2 separate regions of the Homo sapiens genome follow, and region 1 is linked to region 2. Evidence: promoter capture Hi-C in 16 types of primary human blood cells and fetal thymus (Javierre and others, 2016). All regions are on one chromosome and are shown on one strand. The core of a region is centred on a gene start or on the middle of the fragment in contact, and the rest is flanking DNA. Distances in the headings are between cores, read along the strand shown.

Region 1 (6,773 bases), core at 3,985-6,484, 300 kb before region 2:
GGCCCGGCCGGTGCGTGAGGACTGGGGCCCGGGCCCGGCGCCGCCGCCGCCGCCGCCGCCGCGATGGCCCAGCAGCAGATGACCAGCTCGCAGAAGGCCCTGATGCTCGAGCTGAAATCCCTGCAGGAGGAACCGGTGGAGGGCTTCCGGATCACCCTGGTGGACGAGTCCGACCTCTACAACTGGGAGGTGGCCATCTTCGGACCCCCCAACACCCTCTACGAAGGCGGCTACTTCAAGGTACCCTCACCCTCCTCCCGGACCCTGCTTCCGCGGCCGAGGCCTCCGGCTCCCCGCCGCTTTCTGCAGTTCCTGGGACCAGGAGTATGAGCACGGGCGAGTGGAGGGGGCTTCTCACCCGTGCAGCCCCCTCCCCCATCCCTGGAGGCAGGAAGGCCTTGCTCGCCGAGTGCCTTTTCTTTGTCATGGGGGCGGGGGCTCGGGCGGGGGCGGGAGGGCAGGCTGCACCGGGAAATCGGAGAGCCTCTCTGGTTAGGGTAGTGTCTACGGGCGGAGGAGGCCGCCTTTGTTTCCCCCGCTGAGGGTGGGTGGAAAGAGCGGTGGTCTATCTGTGCTTTTTCGTTCTCCGGTCGGAACCCCTCCCTGCGCAGGCTGGAACTGCCCCAGAGGGCAGGGTGACCTGCACCGACTGGATTGGACTTTTCTTTTTTGGGGGGTGGGGGTGGGGGTGGGGTGGGGGAGGGGCACCAGCTTGTCATTTCAGAAGCTGCCGAGTGCCCTGACATTTTGAGGATTTGTTGGGCATCTTGGGTAGTGGTAGTGCCAACTTTGCATTCCAATGGGTGGTGGTGAAGAATGGGACCCTAGGGGTGGTAAAAAAAAAAAAAAAAAAAAAAAGGGTGCCCGCGTCGTCTTGTCATTATCCATTTGGGGGAACTTTAACCCTCTTTCCGTTCACATTCTCTGCTTACCTCAGTCACTGGTTCTTTCAAAATGCCCTTTGTCCTCACCATGCCACCAAGTTTGCCAACCTTTTTTTCTACAGGTAGAAGTATCCACAAAGGGTGGAACGAGTCATGTAGGGAGACTGATAGCTTCCTACTTTCAGAGACAAAATTGAAACCTGCTCAAGTGGTTAACTCTAGCTAAAGGGGTGGTCTCACAGATGACAAGTATCATCTGAGGCGAGATCGTTTCTCTGGGTGGGATGTATGGTTCCTTAGCGACCACAGACATTGTTTCTGTTGTTTTATATGGTCTTAGAACAGTGGTTATCATTCCAGAATCTAATGATTTTTTTTTAACTCCAAGGTAGTTAACTTGGAGATAATGAGTGTTTGTTTTGTTTTGTTTTTACTTGAGTGTTTTTGCAGGGAGGAATCACAGATTGAAAGTCTGAATATTTTAAATGATGGGGGCAGAGAGAGGAAATGAGTGCTTAGGAATCCATTTAGTTTTATTTTTTTATTTTCAAAATTAAGTAAAATAGGCCAGTGAGTCAATTTTAGTTTGGAAGGGAGGGGTTATCTTGGCACAAGTTTTAAATGAGTATCTTAGTCATGTAGTTGTGATGTGTATTTTTAGGACTACCCAATTACTTAACTCTTGTTTTCTACCCTTCTAAAGGTGGAAACCTCAGTTTTATGCTTGAAATTAGGTCAACTTTGTAGGAAATGGGATTGATACAGGAATGTTTAATATTCACTACTGTATATAGTCACTGAGTACCTAGGAAAAGCACGTTTTTAGAATATTATGTAAGTGCGGTACCCCTACCAACTGTTAGGCTTCATCTTTTGTGGTCAGCCTACCCTATACTTTTCAGATGGAGGTATTTAAAATTACTAAGAAAACATGCAACTTATTAGTAACAAAGTGGAAAAGATATTGCTGTGTTTATGATGAAGCATATTCTCTGTTGTCAAATATAAATTTTTATGCATACTGGAAAAATTAGTTGTACAAAATTGAATGTATGTGATACCTTTCTTTTTTTTTTTTGAGACGGAGTCTCGCTCTGTCACCCTGGCTGGAGTGCAGTGGCGCGATCTCGCCTCACTGCAACCTCCGCCTCCCAGATTCAAGCTATTCTCCTGCCTCAGCCTCCCAAGCTGCTGGGACTACAGGCGCACGCCACCACGCCCAGCTAATTTTTGTATTTTTAGTAGAGATGGGGTTTCACCATATTGGCCAGGCCGGTCTCGAACTCCAGACCCTGTGATCAACCCGCCTCTGCCTCCCAAAGTGCTGGGATTACAGGCGTGAGCCACTGCGCCCGGCCATGATGCCTTTTCTGACAAAACATTGTTTAGCAAAATCTGCTGGCTAATGTTAGTGGAATAAAGTTTGATTTCCAAAAAGTGTCATTGTTTGGTACAACCGATATTTAAAATAAATAAATGGGTACTAGTTAGAATAATCTCACTCCAATAAAGTTAAAAACAAGAGCAAACAAAACAAAACAAAACAAAACTTGTACATGAGAGAAAATAATGGGTTGCAAGTTGTAATATTTGTGCATAAGTCTGGGAAAGGAGTGTGGAGAACCCTCTCTGAAATAGGAAGTATGGAAGGATTCCTTGTGTTAATACACTGATTTAAATTAAATGCTTCTGAACTTCAGTCCTTGTTTAAAAGAATGATTTAATCTCGTGCTTTGTGATGTTAGATTTCTTAAGCTTTGAGTGTTTTTACCTTTAATTCTGACATGTATGAAAATTTGTAAACAGGTTTTATGGTTTAGTCTTGTGTGAGAAGTTTGTTCGATTGTATTTTCGACTACTTTTTCCCTTATATGGCCTTTTATCCCATTAGTTGTTCATTAGAAAAAGGCAAATTTATGGTCATGAGCAGTTGACACTGGGGATATGTTTAAAACCATTGTTTTTATTTTACTGCTTTTGTCTTAAGACAAGGCTTTTAGTGTATTTCACTACAGCTGCAGTTGAAAGTTGGCACAAAGCTTTCCCTACCATATCACTCTTCTCCCTTATTAAATGTTAGTCCTTGAACATTTAGTATAATTTATTTTCAAGTTAAACTCTTTTCCCTTTTTGGCATAGTCATTCGTGAAGGCAGTGGGACTGCCAGTCATTCTTTACATTTTTCATACTGTAATTCCTTTAACTTTTATATATTAATAGGTTTCTAACTGATCTTTTTCACCCTGAAATAGTTGGCTCTTGTCTCTTACCCACAGGATCTGCATTGGAGATTTGTGAGACCTGTATTTCACAGAATTTTTTTATTCATCCTGCTTTCGCTTATTTAATATCGCCAATCCACGTGATTCTTAGTTTTGGGCCATATAGATGTAGGATGGGCAAAGATAGTTTCTTCTGTCCATTCTGAATACTATACAATCTTTTTTGGCCTTACTATCTTTTTGTGTAGTTTCTTATTTTGCTACCTAAGCAAGTCGGAATTTTATTGTTACTAGAAAAATAAATTGTGGATCAAGTCAGTAGCTAATGAAGACTTTTAACAAGTTCACCCCCTTTCTTTTGAAAGGAACTTTTTCAGGGTCTTTCTCTGTCACTTAGTTTGGGGTACAGTGGTGTGATCATGGCTCACTGCAGCTTCCACATCCTAGGCTCAAGCAGTCCTCCCACCTCAGCCCCCTGAGTAGCTGGGACTACAGGCATGACTACGCCCGGCTAATTTTTTTTTCTTCAGTATTGTTAAGTGAGGTAGGGTCTCACTATTTTGTCCAGGCTGGTCTCAAACTCCTGGGTTCAAAGGATCCTCCTTTCTCAGCCACCCAAAGTGCTGGTTTTACAGGCGTCAGCCACCATGCCCGGCTGGAACTATCTTTTCAAATAACTCCTGCTAAGGATTGTAGCTTAGTGTGGGTGCTTTAGTACTGAACCTCCTTGGAACTTTTGCATTATTTATCTAAAGCATTATAGCAGTGAGTCTAGAGCCAGAAAGAGTGCCTCTTTTATGATATGCATAACAAAAAAAAATTTTTTTTTTTTTTGAGATGGAGTCTCACTCTTTTGCCAGGCTGGAGTGCAGTGGCACGATCTCAGCTCACTGCAACCTCTGCCTCCTGGGTTCAAGCGATTCTCTTGCCTCAGCCTCCCGAGTAGCTGGGATTACCGGCGTGCGCCATGAAACCTGGCTAATTCTTTTTGTATTTTTAGTAGAGACAGGGTTTCACCATGTTGGCCAGGCTGGTCTTGAACCCCTGACCTTAAGTGATCTGCCCATCTCAGCCTCCCAAAATGTAATCCTAATTAGAGGCCTGAGCCACCACTCCTGGCCAACCTTTTATAGTTTTGATTTTATTAAATAATTTGATTGAGGTAATGAAATATAGATGTGTTCCATTTTTAGAAAACTCCAGTCTGATAATTTAGAAAGTATTTGTTGTATACTTAAAGTTTTCCTTATTAGGAACATCTTTATTAGACTCAACACTGACATATATATATATATATTTTTTTTTTTTGAGACTGAGTTTTGCTCTTATTGCCCAGGCTGGAGTGCAGTGGAGCGATCTCGGCTCACTGCAACCTCCGCCTCCTGGGTTCAAGCGATTCTTCTGCCTCAGCCTCCTGAGTAGCTGGGATTACAGGCATGCGCCACCATGCCCAGCTAATTCTGTATTTTTGGTAGAGACGAGGTTTCTCCATGTTGGTTAGGCTGGTCTCAAACTCCTGACCTCAGGTGATCCCGCTCACCTCAGCCTCCCAAAGTGCTGGGATTACAGGCCTGAGCCACCACACCTGGCCTACACTGACTTACATTAAAGAAACTCTTCAAAACCTTTTTTTTTTTTTTTTAAGAGATAGGGTCTCACTTTGTTGCCCAGGCTGGAGTGCAGTGGTGTGATCATAGCTCACTGCAGCCTGAAACACTTGGGCTCAAGGGATCCTCTTGCCTCACCCTCCTGAGTAGCTGGGACTGCAGGTGCATACCACACTCGTTTTAATTTAAAAAAAAAATTGTTTATGCAGAAAGGGTCTCATAGGCCAGGCTGGTCTCGAACTCCTGGCTTCAAACAATCCTCCCACCTTGGCCTCCCAAAGTGCTGGTGTTACAGATGTGAGCTACCACACCCAGCCAAATAATTTTTTTTTTAATAAGAGAATATGCATTATTTCCTATGCTTCATTTGTTTTGCAATGAATGAATCTATTTTCTGCCTTCCCTCTTCCCCCTAAAAAAACAAACCAGACTTAGCCTAGATCTGGCAATGTCATTTAGATATTTTATTTCTTTTTTTTCTTTTTCTTCTTCTTATTAATTTTTTTTTTTTTTTTTTAGCTGAGTCTCGCTCTGTTGCTCAGGCTGGACTGCAGTGGTGTGATTTCGGCTCACTGCAACCTTTACCTCCTGTGTTCAAGCAGTTCTCGTGCCTCAGCCTCCCAAGTAGCTGGGATTACAGGCGTGCACCACCATGCCTGGCTAATTTTTGTAATTTTTAGTAGAGATGGGGTTTTGCCATGTTGGCCAGGCTGGTCTTGAACTCCTGGCCTCAAGTGATCTGCCCACCTTGGCCTCCCAAAGTGCTGGGATTACAGATGTGAGCCAGTGTGCCCAGCCTATTATTATTATTTTAGAGACAGAGTCTCGCTATGTTGTCCAGGCTTGTCTTGAACTCCTGGGCTCAAGTAATCCTCCCGCCTCAGCCTCCCAAAGCACTGCGATTATAGGTCTGAACCATTGCACCCAGCCTATTTTATGACTCTTTAATTGGTAAAATATAGTTGAAAAAAAATTTTTTTTTTTCCTAGATGGAGTCTTGCTCTGTTGCGCAGGCTGAAGTGCAGTGGCGCGATCTTGGCTCACTGCAACCTCTGCCTCCCGGGTTCAAGCAGTTCTCCTGCCTTAGCCTCCCAAGTAGCTGGGATTACAGGTGCGTGCCAGCACGCCCGGTTAATTTTTGTATTTTTAGTGGAAACGGGGTTTCACCATGTTGTCCAGGCTGGTCTCAAACTCCTGACCTCAGATGATCTACCCGCCTTGGCCTCCCAAAGTGCTGGGATTACAGGCATGAGCCACCGCGCCTGGCTGAAAAAATTTTTTTAGGAAAATGATTGTTTGCCTTTTTGAGACAGGGATTCTTTTGAGAAATTGAAGAATTTTCTCAGAGAAAATGGGTACACGTAAACTAATTTTATGTATCTTTTTCAGAGGGTTTACTGCCGATGAGCTAAGAATCCTCTTGTAAGGTATTTGGATAGGCAACTTAAAGACAATTTTAAACAGCTCCTTTAAAATTATAAAACGAATGCTCTTTTATTCCCCCATTTCTCTCAGTTAACTTTGAAACTACCTCTTAGGGCATTTAGCTGTCTCTTTCTGGAAGATGAAGTTGTCTTGAGTACTGGGTGAACTAAGGTAACGTTATAAATGGAAACACAGTTAAGGTCTAAGGGTTTTGGAAACTAAATGAAGTTTCACTTTTTGTTGTTTCTCAGAACATTTTTCAAACCAAATATGATGCCTTAGTTTTTCATAGAATATGCTTTTATCCTGTTTAGTTGATTACAAGATGCATATTTTTCTACCTTTTAACTTCTTTTTGATTAAGAAATTTCTTAGATGGCCAGGTGTGGTGGCTCATTCCTGTAATCCCAGGACTTTGGGAGGCCGAGGCGGGTGGATCACCTGATGTCAGGAGTTCAAGACCAGCCTGGCCAACATGGTGAAACCCGGTCTCCACTAAAAATACACAAATTAGCTGGTGTGGGCCGGGCGCGGTAGCTCATGCCTGTAATCCTAGCACTTTGGGAGGCCGAGGCGGGCGGATCACGAGGTCAGGAGATGGAGATCATCCTGGCTAACGTGGTGAAACCCCATCT
Region 2 (6,735 bases), core at 2,409-4,908:
GAGTAAAAATATGACTTTATTGTTATTAATGATAAAAACAACAGTGGCTATCCTTGCTGTTACTGCTGTGCTAGCTGGGGCCAAGAAATCTGGGGATTGAATGACTACCCTAGTTTGATTGTTAGCCCACAGCACAGGGACATTCTACATCAAAACTTTCCTATTGAGAATACAACATAATCTCTCCCACCTCTGAAATCTTCACACATTATCCAAAGACAATTCCAATTTTTAAATAATTTTCCTCTCTTCAAATTGTGGGAAAAGGTTATGGAAATCATTTTTACCGCTACTAGTACTTTTAAATAAGTAAGATATTGCTCACTCAGAATATTTCCCAGATGCATGCAGACACCTTAGCACCAGATATTATCACTCCCATTTTGCAGATGCAAAAACAAAAGCACAAATAAGGGAATCATTTGCCCAATGTCACAAAGTTCAGAGAAGAGCACTATTCCTAGTTCCCTGCTTTGGTTCTGGAAGCTAAGCAAAAACAAACAAATACTAACTATAAAATGAAAACAGCTCCCCTTGCCCCAAACACTAGGTTATGAGGATTAGGAAGACAGAAAGAGGTAGGAATTAAGAGTAGGTTAAATTATTACTTATTATGCTCGCCTTCAAAATAGTGTCAATAAATTCAACAAGCAAGAGGCTATGATGATTAATTCAGTTTACAATTCAGTAATATTTGCTAGGCTAAACACTATGATGCACGTGCGGGGAGTGGAATGAACTCTTCCAAGCAGGAGACTCTTTTTCTACTCCAAGTGACAAGGATGACAGTTCTTAACCACGAGTGGGCAGCTGGAGAGACCAAGAAAAGGAAGTTCTGTGGAGGCCCGTTGCCACCACTTAGTTTTGAAAGGCTTCTGGGTAAGACAAGCGACTCCTCAACAGAAGAGGAAACGAAAGGTTGGCCCCAACCACCATGGTATTATTTCCTTCCTCAAAACTGTTTAAATTTTTGCCTATGTCCTTTATAAACAGACCAACCACCATGGTATTATTTCCTTCCTTAAAACTGTTTAAATTTTTGCCTATGTCCTTTATAAACAGACACTTCTCCTAGTACTTAAGACTTTCTTGATCTAGAGCAATCTTCTCTCTTTTAATGATCCAAAATGTGTTTCATTCCAGGGTCAATTTACTCACACATTATGACATTACTTGTCCATTCACACAGGGGAGGTGAAAACCGAGGGAGGGCTGGGCGTAATCATTTCCCACCCCTAGGCCCTAGGCCCTGCCTCTTTTCATTTGCCAGTCTTGTGACATCATGCTATTCGTGGACTCTATTCCAAACGTTTCTGCTCTTTGACTTATTTTATCCTGGCCTATAATTGGGTTGGTTACAAAGCTTACTGAGAAATTTTTCACTTCATTCATTTATAACTGTCTTTCTATTCACTCTTAAAAAGGCTACTTTCCAAAGAGCTAATGCTTATACCCTGAAATATACTACCAGACACACATTCCCTGCCTTCCTTATAGGAAACAGTTCATGTATTTCTCATATTTCAGTTTATACATTTTTAGATTCTGTTCACTAAAAAACAGCCAAGTGTGCTATTTTAAATACTTCGACATACGTTCTTAGGCTGTTTTCACTATTATGTATCCTGAATGATGCTCTAAGCATCATTATTTCTTAAATCTTTCCTTTGAGGCCTATGACTTAAAAACCAGCATAAAAATATGAGGCAAAAACAAACAAACAAACAAACAACCCTCTAGAAGCAGCACATCCAGAGAGGGCCTGAAGAAATACACTCCTTTGAGGACTTATCAGAAAAGAAATGTATGAGTGAAAAAAGGAACACGAAAAGAGGAAGAAGTCACCAACGGGAAAGAATGGAAAGGAGAGTAAGGCAAGTCCCTCCTAAAAGAAACAGACGGGAAAACTAGCAGAGGTTCTAGAGCAAGTGGAGCAATATATCCACGACCTAGGAGAGAGGTCACATCCCCCCAGGCACTTACCGTGTTGCATTTTGTGCCACACACCACTTGCCTATGATTCAACCACTGAGATGCAAACACTTTATTAAGGGTCCCAAGGTGAAACTCTCTCTCCTTCAGGAGACTGGGAAGTTGCTGTGCTGCATAACCATGCAACACTCGAGAGTAGCTGGTTTCATTCTGTAGCCTGACTTCCCGGTTCTTCAAGTAGTATACTAAGGATCTCTTCACAGGAGGAAGTCTTTTCCTTTTGTGAAGCGAGTGATCCCAGCCAAACTGTGGAAACAACATTAGAAATCAGGGCTTTGGCTACTCTTCTTCAGAACAGATCCTACTGTATTACAGAAATCACCAACTCATAACTCATACTGCAGAATTTACAAACAACACAAATACAAACACAAGAGAACAAGAATCTCAATCCAGAAAGTCGTTTAACTCTTCCAACATTAAAAAGATGTTGCTCACAGTCAAACTTACCAATGTGAATTACAAGGGCTGAAAGTCAAGGGAATGAATGCAGAATAGAACAGACTAAAAGGTTTACTAGACATTTTAGGAGTGAAAGATTGAAGGAAATGAGAGGTAGAGTGATTCCCATACCGACATGGGCTGCATCTCTACCCAGCCCCCTTCTCCCTCTCAGTCTGTACTCCCACTGGAGCACGGAAGATACAGTCCAAGGAGCCAGACCTGGCTCCCAGGTCTTCCAGGGATGCATCATCAATGACCGTTCCTCTGTCATCATGCCCGCGCTCCAGGCAGTTGCAGAATTCGAAAAATCAACCGCCAACGGGGTAGTAGGCCCCCGGGAAATCAGAGGCCATATCTATGTCCAAGAAGGCCTTCCCCTCCAAAGGGGGCGGCATAGAGATGATACCTGGGAACTGTTGTTTCTTTTGGGGTCCAAACGCCGAAAGGCCCAGCTCAGGGTTGGGTATACATATAGGGAGACTACTTCCTTCTTCCAGGAGGGACGCAATCATCCCAGCTTCCTAGGGCCCATGGAAGGTAGAGTTCACTCTACCAGAGTTTGTTTCCGATTCCCTTAACTTCGGTTTCCCCTTCCTCCAAAGCCAAGATTCTGGTTTCTTTTCAAGCCCTATCCACGAATGCAGGCCTCCCGCGGATTATGTCCCATTCCTGAGTTCCCCTTTGGCTCCTCACCGCCCTGGCCTATCTGCCCTCCAGTTAACGAGGGTCCAGTCCTGACCCTATAGGCCCTGAACCCATTCCTGTTTTGCCTCTGACTGCAGACCCTGGACCCCGATTCCCGTCGCAGGATCTGCGGACCCTAAGCCCATCTTGGTTCCTCAGCCTCACCACCCAGGTGCCGGCCTCTCAACCCTCACCTGCGGGCCCTGAGCGTCGCTCCCAGCTCCCGGCGAGGCGGGCGCTTTCCGCTTCCTGCTAACTACTTTCCGGGCCATAGTGGGCAGCGCCGCCGCGGCCCCGCAGCCACATGGGGCGGGGGAAGCGAAGGATAGCAGGACGGCGGGTCATATACTGGGCCCCGGGGCCGCGCACCTTAGTGCGCCCGGCCCGGAAAATGGCCCGGACCCGGAGCGGCAGCAGAAAAAAGATAGGCGGAAAGAAAGGAAAGAGAGAGGAAGGACTTGAGCCGGGAAAGGGAAGGGGAAGCGAGAATGAGCGGCTTTCCGACGGCAGAGCCTGCAAGGACGGCGAGCGGCTAGAACCAAAACACCCCCTCCCCCTTGCTCGCGCGCCGTCACCCTTGCGCAGCCGCACTTCGGATAGCGTCGCCACGGAAACACCGCCGGAACGAGATGGGCGGGATCTAGGGGTTGGAAGATAGTTCTCTGGTGTTTCCCGGCCGCCGCCAGGCCATTTTCAACGGTTGTTTGGCTACTGCTGGATGGAAGTGGACGAGCTGGGGCCAAGGGAATCTGGCTTCTGGCCGCCGACCTCCGACCCCAGCCCGCCTATCCGCAGGCACCCGGAAGTGAGGACCACCAGTGCTGCTGGGGGAAGGAATCCTCCCTAGTGCAGGCCTTAACCCGGTTACCTCCCATCTGGCACCAAACGTTTCCCTGAATCTGTCACAAACCGTGCCCTGGCTCCAAGGGCTGGACAGGGGGGTGGGGGGGTGGGGGGCAGGAACCGCTCCCACCCTCGAGGTGAAGTCCAGTCAGGAAGTCAGGGCAGTGTGGCCAGACTTTCCCACCACTGAGAACCTGCCCAGCACAACCAACCCAGGCCGCCCTACGAGTCTCTGGCTACCCTCTTCCCACCGCTGGGTAGCCCTGAGGCTCCATTCTCCGCTCTGTCTCCTCCTGATCCTTTCTCCTGTCCGAAATGCTTCAGCCCCTCAGTCAGTTTCAGCTCCTCAGTCACCTTCCCCTTACGGTGCAACTTCACCATTCCCTTTAGATTTCCATGACCTGCCATCTAAACCACATGGTCTTTTGTGCTTTATGAAGTAGTCATCACGCTGTAAACTTATCTGTAGCTGCCTGCCTCACTCTTGGATTCAGGTTGCGTCTCCATTAGGGCAGGTCGGGAATTCTGAACTACAGGAAAGAGAGTGGTCATTTTTGGCTTGCCAGTCCAGTTAGAGCTGGCATTGGCCTCCAAACAAGGGGGCTTCATCAGGATCACCCTTGCCAACATTTTTGGAAGATCCTGAAGGAATATGACTGCCAGCCTTCGCTTTCCTCAAGCAAACAAACCCTCTGAGGAAGCAGGATGCTCTTGCTTGGGGCTGATTGGCCTCAGGCTGTGGTGCCCAGTTACCTGCTGGTCACTTCAGGCTTCAGGCCTCAGGCCTCATACCTCCAAGGAGCTCTGTTGGACCATCTCAAGTTCTGTCAACAAGGAGATTTGGATTTGTTTTCCAAGCCGAATCAAAGACCAGATTGAAGCAGGGTCTCCTGCCATCCCAAGTCGGCACTACCACTAACCCCTAATGTCTTGCGAAAGGCAGCTCCATCTTATTTGGTCAGGCCTGTCCCTTTAGAGATATGCACATAGTGAGTGGGTCAGGAGTGGGTCAGCTTTCTTTTTTGAGTCTGTTCTAATTCTGTCTTGCCCCGCAATGCTCTGGATGACCCAAGAGCCCCTGGGCAAGAGTCTGGAATCCTTTGAGAATCTCTAGGCTCAGATTGGGCTGTCAGTGCCAAGAGGGGCACACTGGGCACTGCTGCAGTCTCTTTCTCAAAGTTCCTTTACTTCATCTTCACAACCTAGGAACCATCCCCAAATGTACCTTATAGCAGAGCTCGCGATTTCTTTTCTTTTTTTTTTTTTGAGATGGAGTCTCACTCTGTAGCCTAGGCTGGAGTGCAGTGGCACGATCTCGGCTCACTGCAACCTCTGCCTCCTGGGTTCAAGTGATTCTCCTACCTCAGCCTCCTGAGTAGCTCAGATTACAGGTGCTCGCCACGTTGCCCAGCTAATTTTTTTTTTTCTTTTTTGAGACGGAGTCTCGCTCTGTCGCCCAGGATGGAGTGCAGTGGTGCGATCTCGGCTCACTGCAGGCTCCGCCTCCTGGGTTCACGCCATTCTCCTGGCTCAGCTTCCCGAATAGCTGAGACTACAGGCGCCCGCCACCACGCCTGGCTAATTTTTTGTATTTTTAGTAGAGACGGGGTTTCACCATGTTAGCCAGGATGGTTGCCCACTAATTTTTGTATTTTTAGTAGAGACGGGGTTTCACCATGTTAGCCAGGATGGTTGCCCACTAATTTTTGTATTTTCAGTAGAGATGGGGTTTCGCCATGTTGGCCAGGCTGGTCTCAAAATCCTGACCTCAGGTGATCCGCCCACTTCGGCCTCCCAAAGTGCTAGGATTACAGGCATGAGCCACCACGGCTGGCCAAGAGCTCACCATTTCTATTCAAATAACAGAATGAAAGTCCATTTTGGAAATTTAATTGACAATTGCCTTTAAAAGACTGCAGGCCAGGTGCGGTGGCTCACGCCTGTAATCCCAGCACACTGGGAGGCCGAGTTGGGCCAATCACCTGAGGTCAGGAGTTCGAGACCAGCCTCCTGAGTAGCTGGGTTGCAGTGAGCTGAGATCATGCCACTGGACTCCAGCCAGGGTGACAGAGCAAGACCCTGTGTAAAAAATAAAATAATAAAATAATAATGATAACAATAATAAAGTAGTAGAGTGGCTGGGGGAAAAAGTACTCAGGGCATGTAACTACTCCAAGAATGGCATTCTTAGTGAGCCTCACTGCTGAAACTGCGTGCTATAATCTGAAAGCAGTTTTATCTAATAGCTGTTAAAACAACCTACTGTGACTCTCAGAAATAGTTTTACTTATTGCCTTCACTTACCAATCAAAACTTGCCAGCTCTCCAAAACCTTACTAGTGCCAGTGAACTTTCTTGAAGAGCAATACATAACACTTCCTTTTTACAAAACTTCCAACCTTCTCTTTGTTCTGCAGACATGGCAAAGACCACCCAGTCTGCGTGTGCCCTGAATTACAATTCCTGCTTCACAAAACATTTTAATTTTAGAGATTCATCTATATATTTTATTTCACCTTGACAAAACTGTGTGAATGAATTTTATAATATTGCATAAAAGATATCAGGCCAGGCGTGGTGGCTTACACCTGTAATCCCATCACTTTGGGATGCCAAGGCGGGTGGATCACCTTAGGTCAGGAGTTTGAGACCAGCCTGGCCAACATGGTGAAACCCCCTCTCTACTAAAAATACACAAATTAGCTGGGCATGGTGGTGCCCGCCAGTAGTCCCAGCTACTCAGGAGGCTGAGGCAGGAGAATCGCTTGAACC

Evidence for each region. The method cuts DNA at HindIII sites, captures the fragments that hold promoters and counts their contacts. A CHiCAGO score of 5 or more calls a contact.
Region 1: a fragment that was not itself captured here is called in contact with the fragment with the promoter of DCAF12 in region 2 in 1 of 17 cell types (erythroblasts); the score reaches 6.2 in erythroblasts.

What each region holds. Positions count from the first base shown.
Region 1 is chr9:33,817,695-33,824,467 of GRCh38, forward strand. It overlaps UBE2R2 (ubiquitin conjugating enzyme E2 R2), which reads left to right. Exons shown (of 5, transcript NM_017811.4): 1 at 1-240. The coding sequence starts at 64. UBE2R2-AS1 (UBE2R2 antisense RNA 1) reads right to left here and starts at 1,174. Exons shown (of 5, transcript NR_170204.1): 1 at 933-1,174. RefSeq lists a silencer at 1-85. The HindIII fragment of the contact is 4,626 bases long and covers 2,922-6,773 here.
Region 2 is chr9:34,123,040-34,129,774 of GRCh38, forward strand. It overlaps DCAF12 (DDB1 and CUL4 associated factor 12), which reads right to left and starts at 3,659. Exons shown (of 9, transcript NM_015397.4): 1 at 3,315-3,659; 2 at 1,984-2,238. The coding sequence starts at 3,392. RefSeq lists an enhancer at 3,208-3,909 and a silencer at 3,344-3,393. The HindIII fragment of the contact is 23,268 bases long and covers 1,362-6,735 here.